2 separate regions of the Homo sapiens genome follow, and region 1 is linked to region 2. Evidence: promoter capture Hi-C in human tissues and cell types (Jung and others, 2019). All regions are on one chromosome and are shown on one strand. Each heading gives the region's core, a stretch centred on a gene start or on the middle of the fragment in contact. The rest is flanking DNA. Distances are from core to core; before and after follow the strand shown.

Region 1 (4,606 bases), core at 1,352-3,851, 270 kb after region 2:
GAAATCTCAGCTAGTCTACTTTGGAAAGTTGTCCTAATCACTGCTGGAGCAATCACCAAGTTGAGGGTAGGGACTGTGTCTTTTCTGTATTCTTCACTCTCTCTCCGGAAGCCTCAGCCCTTCACATCTCTAAGCCCAGGTCCCAGAACAATTATAATTCTCATTCCAATTACTTTAAAAAAATTCCTGGGATTAGCTGAGCTCAATACATATGAAGGTGGGGAATGTTATGCCTTAGAAAGTAACATTTCCAGCCAGGCGCGGTGGCTCATGCCTGTAATCCCAGCACTTTGAGAGGCCGAGGAGAGTGGATCATTTGAGGTCAGGAGTTCGAGATCAGCCTGGAAAACACAGTGAAACCCCGTCTCTACTAAAAATACAAAAATTAGACGGGCATGGTGACATGTGCCTGTAGTCCCAGCTATTTGAGAGACTGAGGCAGGAGAATGGCTTGAACCTAGGAGGAGGTTGCAGTGAGCCGAGATCAGGCCACTGCACTCCAGCCTGGGCAACAGGGCAAGACTCCATCTCAAAAAAAAAAAAAAGAAAGAAAAGAAAGAAAGAAAGTGACATTTCCTAAGCATTCAAGTTAATCATAATCTTGAACATACATTTTCTTCTGTCAGTTGAAACCTTCCAATTATTATTAAAACTAATGGCAAAAACCACAATTACTTTTGCACCAACCTAATACTTTAACATTTGGTATGTTAAAATATGAATGACTTAAAACAGGAAAATTGAGATTTGATAGGCAAAGATAATAATAGTTAAGGTTTATTGATCACTTTCTAATCCTTTTCATTCCTTTTTTTTCTGGTTAATGTGGGATTTCTTACTAAACTCAGTGAGAGTGCTTATATCTAATCATTGAGAGGGATTTGGCTTTCATTGATAAAACCATTGGTAAAAGGCTGTTTTCAGGATTATGGCAACTTCTCAATGCCAGCAGCAACCTGTCTGAAAGGTGAGAGATCTGAGCATATTAAACCTGGCGTACCCATGTGATTTATAGGAACTATTAAGGATTATCAGGAAAAGTCCCAGGAAACAACCAGTGTGAACACAGCGTGTTCGTGGGTGATGTGAATACAGCGTGTTTGTGGGTGATGTGAAAACAGTGTGTTCGTGGGTGAGGAGTTCTCTGGTCCAGGCTCCGTGGGAAAGTGGATGGAAAGTGCATGCTCTGGGCACTGCTGCCATCTGCTGCTGCCTTGATTCAGGAAGGCATTTTGCAGATCACAGGCAGGGAGACGACAAAAAAAAAAACACCAAAGCTCATTTTGTTGACATTAAATGTTCAACGTTTCTATTGCTGGGCATTTGACACAAATATGTTCATTTACTTTTCTTTGATTCATGAATGTCTTCAGGTATTTGCAAAGGACAAGAGGCTTCCATTTGGTAATTTACGTCTATTTCCCATCATGCAACTACATTTATTTTGAATATCAGTTTGCATTAAGCTATTTAAAATTAAAGGAAGATAATCAGATAATGTATGGCTTTTTGCAGTATTATTTTGTAGGGGTCATATAATATCAGACTTTTTGGAGAATTCTTAAAATAACTCATCCTAACTTATTTAGAGTAGCCACTTCAGAGATTTATAAAATGAAAGTGAAAGCAGTTTTTCTGGCTGGTCCGATGGTAGTGGGTTATCAGAACTTATTAACATTAGTGTCACTAAAGTTGGTATACAACCCCCCACTGCTAAATTTGACTGGCTTTTTACCATTTGATTTTGTATTTCAATCAAACAAGCTAACTTTACAAAATATTCATGTTGGGGGGAAAGCATTCTTACATAAATGTCCCCCTCCTTTTCTTTTTAGGGTCTTACTGTGTTGTCCAGGTTGGAGTACAGTAGCACAATCATAGCTCACTGTAGCTCTAAACTCCTGGGCTCAAGCAATCCTCCTACCTTAGCCTCTTGAGTAGCTGGGACTACAGACACATGCCACCATATCCAGTTATTTTTTTTCCTTTTTTGTAGAGGCAGGGTCTCACTATATTGCCCAGGCTGGTCTCCAACTCCTTTGGCTCAAGTTATCCTGCTGCCTTGGCCTCCCAAAGTGCTGGCATTACAGGCGTTAGCCGCTGTGCCCAGCCTGAATGTACTTTTTTTTTTTTTTGAGCCAGAATCTCAGTCTGTTGCCCAGGCTGGAGTGCAGTGGTGCGATCTCGGTTCACTGCAACCTCCACTTCCCAGGTTTAAGCAATTTTCCTGCTTCAGCCTCCCAAGTAGCTGGGACTATAGGTGCGTTTCCTGTCAGCCCAGAGCCTCAGTCGGGGCCGTTGTCCTCAAACAAGGAGGCCCCTGTCCGCCAGCTTTGCGTTTGCACAGAACGGTTAACTTGACAGCGCTGTGTCCCCCAGCCCTCATATTTATTCACAATCCTTGCTGCACTTTATCTCCAGAATAAAAACCAGTCCGATCCAAAACAGACAGTGTTTGTGTCTGTTTCAATTTTCTGCTCAACCGATTCTGTTCGGTGGAGTCTCTCCAAGAAACTTCTCAATTAAGCTTTCATCAACATTGTTTCAGCATCAGAGTTATTTTTTTCCTTTCCTTGTTTGCTTCCGTCTCTACGGAATGGAATGATCAACTTCCTGATGCACCAAAGGGTTAACAACAAAGGCCTCCTGGAAAAGGAAGAAAAGCGGCCACAGAAAGCTGATTCCTGGGCAGCCGCCCTGGGCCTGAGAGGCAGCATCGCCTTGTGCTGCTGGTGAGAGGGTCTCAAGAATGGCTGAGGGTGCGACCCCTGAGCCTTGATGCCTTGGCCACATTTCTCAGTCCTCCCAGTCCTGGCCCCAGGGATCAGGACCACCCCAGCAGCTGTTGTAGCCCAATCATGATCACCACTATTTCTTGTAAAAAAAGATCCCTGAGGCAGTCAGCAGCTCCAAGAACATTTGATTGTCCAAGAAAATGCCGACCCCAAAAGGGGAGGGATTCTGTGTAAGGAAAGGAATGGGGTGGCTTTATCACCATCCTACACCAAATAAGAACGCCTAGGAGGAGGCAGGGATGCCGGCTCGCTGTTTTAGGAGGAAACAGGGAGGGGGACAAGTGTGCCTTTAAAACGATAGTTAGGGTCAGATGCGGTGGCTCACGTCTGTAATCCCAGCACTTCGGGAGGTCAAAGCAGGTGGATAACTTGAGGTCAGGAGTTCGAGACCAGCCTGCCAATGGTGAAACCCTGTCTCTACTAAAAATAGAAAACATTTTTCAGGCATGGTGGTGGGTGCCTGTAATCCCAGCTGCTCTGGAGGCTGAGGCAGGAGACTCGCTTGAACCTGGAAGGCGGAGGTTGCGATGAGCCCACATTGTGCCATTGCACTCCAGCCTAGGTGACAGAATGAGACTCCATCTCAAAAAAAAAAAAAAAGATAGTTGGCCCTCCGCATCTGCAGGTTCCACATTCATGGATTCAACCAACCGCTGACTGAAAATATTAGGGGGAAAAAATAGATAGTTTTGTCTGTTCTGAACATAGACTTTTTCAGGGTCATTATTCATTAAAGAATACAGCATAATAACTATTTCTATATCATGTACATCGTATTAGGTATTATCTAAATCTGTACTTGTAATCTAGAGATGATTTATAAGTATATGGGAGGATGTGCATAGGTTATATGTAAATTCTACATCTTTTTTTTTTTTTGAGACGGAGGTTTTGCTCTTGTCACCCAGGCTGGGAGTACAATGGTGTGATCGCGGCTCACCGCAACCTCCACCTCCTGGATTCAAGTGATTCTCCTGCCTCAGCCTCCTGAGTAGCTGGGATTACAGGCACCCACCACCACACCCGGCTAATTTTTGTATTTTTAGTAGAAACGGTTTCACCATGTTGGCCAGGCTGGTCTCGAACTCCTGACCTTACGTGATCCACCCACCTCAGGCTCCCAAAGTGCTGGGATTACAGGTGTGAGCCACCACGCCCGGCAATTCTACACCATCTTATGAGGGGCTTAAGCAACCATGGATTTTGGGATCCAGCAGGGGTCCTGGAACCACTGCCCACAGATACCGAGGGACGACTGTAGATGACTGTACATACCACATTGCGTTTACTCATTCATGTCCCTCGATGGGTACTTGGTTGCTTCTACCTTATGGCTAATTGTGAACTATGCTGCTATGAACACAGGTGTACACATATCTTCCCTTCTAGTCCCTGCTTTCAAGTCTTTTTTTCTTTTTTCTTTTTTTTTTTTTTTTTTTTTTTGAGACAAGGTCTTGCTCTGTCACCCAGACTAGAATGCAACGGTGCTATCATGGCTCACTGCAACCTCCGCCTCCCAGGTTCAAGTGATTCTCTTGTCTCAGCCTCCGAAGTAGCTGGAACTACAGGCATGTGCCACCATGCCCAGCTAATTTTTGTATTTTTAGTAGATTTGAGGTTTCACCATGTTGGCCAGGCTGGTCTCGAAATCCTGACCTCAAGTGATCCACCCGCTTCGGCCTCCCAAAGTGCTGGGATTACAGGCATGAGCCACCGTGCCCAGCCAAGTTTTAAAATTATTTGCAGACACGGGGGTCTCACTATGTTGCCCAGGCTGGTCTCGAACTCCTGAGCTCAAGCTATGTTCCCAC
Region 2 (4,827 bases), core at 420-2,919:
AAACCCCACATAGGTACACTGGAAAACATGGGCCACAGGGATAAACCTTCCATTTTTACTTCCAACCTTACCATGTGCTCACAAAAAAAGGTGTTAAATACATGTAAGTTTTGACGAGGTTATTTAAAAGTGTAGGATATAAACCAAGAATTTTTCACACCCCAAAACCCCGCACAAATTAAGGGATTACATATCTGAGTGACAAGTACATACAAACGCATTACTTCTAGAGATACTTAGATGTAGATAAAAGACCACATTTCAATAGAAGGATCACACAGACCAGTGGGATGTTTCTTCTGAGATAACCCACTTTATGCAGGAAACAGTGTGGACTCTGGGGACGGCCTCTGCTCTGGCTGAGGATTTCTGTCCCAGAGCGGTACAGGAATCTGCGTAGTGTTTTAGTTTGGAGAAAACAGGAAGTTACACTCATCACATCTTTTGCCCAGATGATAGAATTCGAAATCCCCCCGGGGTTGTTCATGGAATGAGCCGCTCTGTTATGTTGTGAGCCGTGGTATTAATCAGCCACCCCTCACTAGGTGTTGGGGTTCCACCACGCTTCCTCCACCCCCCGTCACCACAGCAGCGGGTAGTATTTAGGTTGAATATTCCAAATAGTCAATTATGACAGTTAATTTCAAATGAGATGACTTCGAAGTACACGTGAAAACAATACTATTTTATATCACGACTCATGCCATCCGTATGTGTAATCAAAGCCTTCTAAGTCTTGATATGTCCTTACAAAGACGAAGGATAGAGTGAATGTCAAAATTTGCCAAACAGGAGTTACTGAAAGTCTGAAGGGGAAAGCCTAGTTAGGTTTTATCTTAGAAGTGATTTTTAAAACGAAACACGCAGATAAGCTCGAGCTTTCTGGAGCCGATTCCTAAGGCCTTGCAGGTGGTAAGGGGGTCGAGAATTGGCTGAGGTTCCTCGGAAGTCCGCGCCGATTCGGAGGGCCACCTCTGACTTTCTGATCTGGGGTGCAACCCCCAGTCCCTGTCCCGGTCGACAAAGGTGTGGAGTCAGGTTCCAGGCAAGCTGGGGGTGGGGGTGCGCACAAGGGAGGGGCAGGGGACTGGGACCCCCTCTTCTTCGGGGTGCTTCGGGCCGTTTCTCCAGAGGCTGGTGGTGTCCCCGACCCAAGCAGCTCAGCCCCGCTCGCGAGGTCCGAAGTGGCGGGAACGGGTCCTCCGCGGCGGTCCCAAGGCGAGGGAGGCTGTAAAACCTGGCAGAGAATCCGGCGCGCCGGGTCGGGGATGTCTCGGGTGCCGGGGGCAGGGGCCGCAGGCTCGCAGGTAGAAGCTTCCCCACGCGAGCGGGGGCCTCGGCCGCGGAAGGGGCGCCCCCGGGGCCGCCGGCAGCGGCGAGCGGGCGGGAGGGAGCTTTCCGGGCCCCTCCCGCGCCTCGGGCTGGCGGGGCGATGGCGACGACGGTTTCCCGGCTCCCCCGCCCCGGACGCCGATGGCGGTGCGTTCCGGCCCTCCCCCAACAGCTTCTCCCCCGCGGTCGCCGGAGCCGGTGAGGCCGAGAGGGCGGGGAGCCGCGCAGGGAAGGCGAGAGGGCGGAGGTTGCGTGGTGCAGGCGGCGGCGGCGGGAGGAGGAGGGCCGGGCGGGCAGGGGAGGAGGAGGAGGCGGGCGCCGTGTCGCACGCAGCTCCAGGCGGGGCAGCCCCGGTAGCTGAGGGACGCAGCTAGACCTTGGCGGGACGGGGCTTTCGCCGGGGCCCAGGCCCAGGGACCAGGCGGAGGCGTCGCGGGAGCCTTTGGGGCACCACAGAGATGCGGGTGAGTGTCGGCAGCCGCCGGGGCCGAGAGGAGGTGGCGGCGGCGGCGGCGGCGCAGGCCCGGCCCCGAGCCGCGGTGTCGCAGTGACTCGGGCCGCGACGGCCGAAACCAGGCGCCTGGCGAGGCCTGAGCCGCCGAAACGCGGCCGGGCAGAATGGCGGCCGGGCCGGGGGACTCGTGGGCGGAGGACGCCGAAGGTGGCAGAGGAGCGAGCGGGGCCGGGCCCTGAGTCACCCCGGACGGGCCGGGGCGGCCAGGCCTGGACTACGCACTGGGAAAAAGCACGATTCATCGCGCCTGGAGGCGGCGGCCTGGTGGCGCCGGCCCCTTTCCCCGCCGCGACCGGGCTGGGTTCTCGGAGGGTGGGCCGACGTGTGGCCCGGGGCGGCTCGGGCGTCCGCGCCTCGCCTGGTGAGGCGACCTCCGCGGGACGCCGGGACCCGTGCCCTTGCCCCCTCGCGCCCACGCTTCTTCCCGGCGCTGCTTTCCGGCCGACGCGTGTTCCCCTGTGAGCTCTGGGCTCAAGCGCAGGAGCAGCCGCGGAGCCGGGCTCTCTCGCTTTCCGGTTCCCTGCCCGCGGCTCTCGGGTTCCCCGCCTGCATTGTTGCGAACGTGCAGGGCGCTATTATTGGGTAACAGTCGCCCTTTTGCCCCGTTCTCCTGGGAGAGCGGGCCGGGGCATGCGCGCAGGGATGCTAGCCCGGCGGCCGAACCGGACAGAGCCCCCCGGCGCCCGCCTATCGCTCGCTAGTCGGGCCGGGCCCTGCGCTGCGGCCTCGGCGCGCCCCCGGTCCCAACGGGAGCGCGCGCCCTGACCCTGAGGGTAGCCGTGCGCCCGCCAGGCCGCTGGGACTTGGGGTCCCCAGACTCGGGGGTCGTCGCTTTTTTTTCCCTTAAGATCTGAAAGACCCCCGTTTCTGCCACCCGTGCAGTATTGTGTAGCGCAGACATAAGATAAGAAAGAGAGGAATGCTTGTAGACATTCCTTGAAATGAATCCCCAAAGTTAGGGTTTTCTCCCTGGCTGGCTTTGCCAAAAAGAGGATTCTCTTTTCCGATTGGGTCACTCTTGGTTGCTTCTGGTTCGTAGTAGGGGTTAGTGGTAAGTGCGCAAATACTGAATTGCAGTCTACTTAAATATTTGTTTGCTCTGTGTAATTGCTCTTTCCTGTAGTAGCATTAAAATCGTCAAAAGTTCTGAGTGGAGTAAACGATCACACTTTTTGGAATGCACTTAACGAAGCGGCAGAAGAGGAACTAGATTCCTTTTTTACTTCAAGCCATGAGCTTCTAGGACCTAAGCATAGCTTAACGCCTCGCAGAAGTGTGTGCAGTTTTAAGTTTAACACTTCATTTCATGGTGCACCCGAAAATGTACCCGATTTTCTGAAATCCTGGAGAGTGTATTACGTAGTAAAATATGTAATGATGTTTAAAATGTAAAACCAGTCATTCTGTTTGAAAAAGATATTTGGAGATGAGATTTTTCTTTGTTTAAAGAAGGTTTGTTTTTGGATATTGAAAAATGTTTTACTTGAAGGTTCTATTTGTTGTTTTCCATGGTGAGTCGAAATAGTTGCGTTACATTTCAAATTCCAAAGCATGCAAACACAAGACTGGCTCGCTTTAACTCTATTAATGCCCATTTTTGGAGGTTTCAGGAGAGTGTTCCTTAAGCTTGAGAGGGATGGCTGAATTGCTTTCTAAATATGTTAAACTTTTTTTCTCATTGGCTTCATCTTTTAAAAACGATTTTGTCAAAAAACAAACCAAATTTAGATATGCTAGGGTTTTTCACCAATTTATAAAAGCCTCCCTCCCTGAGAGCCACATGCTCAGGTCCTTATAGCCAGCCCCACCCCCCACTCCTAATGTGTGTACCACATCAGAAGACAGACACGCATGCCTGAGCTGATTCTGCATGGTTTCCTTAGATATTACAGTTCATTAGACTCTTGCCACTTACTGAATATTATCTTCTAGCTGTAATTAACTACATGACAGCCTTATTTCCCATACATTTCCGATTGTGAATTCCTCCAGCGCAGGAGATATTCCTTATTTGTTTTTGCGTCCCCAGAGTAACAGAACTTGGTTGTGGTGGTGCCTCAGTTGCTTTTTTTTAATGAATGAGTTTTCTGGAATAATTCTAACTTAAACTTAACGTTTGAAAACATGCGCTGATTTTTGGCTACAGAAAACACAGTCGTTGTGCTTAAGCCGGTTAAGAATTCAAGCTTTATTATACACTTCTCGAGTAAAATTGATCGTCTCTCTCATCCCTCCTTTTCTATTCCCCCTTCCCTCTTCACTTCCCTTCTCCCTGAAACACCCCAGTATCTAGTACAGGGCCCTAACAGAAAAATGCCCAGGTTTTCTATACCTATGGAAGTCTGGGAAAGTGCCAAGAAAACAGGTTGTGAAACTTTAACTTTTTTCCCCCTTAAAACTAGTTTTAAGGTGTGGATGTTTTTACTTTTTGTGTTTGGTGTTTTTTTGGAAACACGATCAGGTTTTTCCCCCCAGGTTGAGTATCCAGCCTTGCCTTTGCAATGAAGCAGTTTGGTAGTTAAGGCTCCTCCTTGTAGATGAGGCAAGCCCCATGGTTCTGCTGGAGTGGGATAGGAAGTTGCTGTAGGAGGAACCATCCCTTGGTCTCTGAGGGCCATTCATCAGAATGTCATTCCCAGTATACCCAGTGGTGTCTGTCTTTCAGCATGGAAAATTAAAATGAATGTACTTTAAATTGAGGAGTTGTTACTTGCCATTCTTCAAATTAAAAATATTAGGGCCTTAAAAACTTAGGAACTTGGTTTTTTGTTTGTTTTGCTGTTTCAGCCTTCCGTAGGTCCTAAAGCCAGTGACCTTGAGTCATTCTGGAATAAAATGTCTTTGGGGGACTGTCAGCTTCATTTTGAACTTGTCTTTTAGGTATGTCTGGAGAAAAGAGTGTTAACCATTTTAAGGGCCAATTCTAAGGTTGCCTTGCTTTTTAAAAACATTTGGTAGTTTATCAGTGTGTTTGTTTTGCT

What was found. The method cuts DNA at HindIII sites, captures the fragments that hold promoters and counts their contacts. A contact is called where the count stands out against the background at its distance.
Region 1: a fragment that was not itself captured here is called in contact with the fragment with the promoter of CUL1 in region 2 in 1 of the 25 tissues and cell types used here (heart left ventricle).

The regions. Positions count from the first base shown.
Region 1 is chr7:148,961,678-148,966,283 of GRCh38, forward strand. It overlaps RNY4. Among named protein-coding and RNA genes, the nearest start is that of GHET1, 24 kb to the right of the region's middle. RefSeq lists enhancers at 2,318-2,819, 2,820-3,319. The HindIII fragment of the contact is 4,639 bases long and covers 283-4,606 here.
Region 2 is chr7:148,697,234-148,702,060 of GRCh38, forward strand. CUL1 (cullin 1) reads left to right here and starts at 1,670. Exons shown (of 22, transcript NM_003592.3): 1 at 1,670-1,796. RefSeq lists silencers at 525-584, 1,245-2,274, 2,575-2,674 and enhancers at 855-904, 1,972-2,697. The HindIII fragment of the contact is 3,848 bases long and covers 1-2,393 here.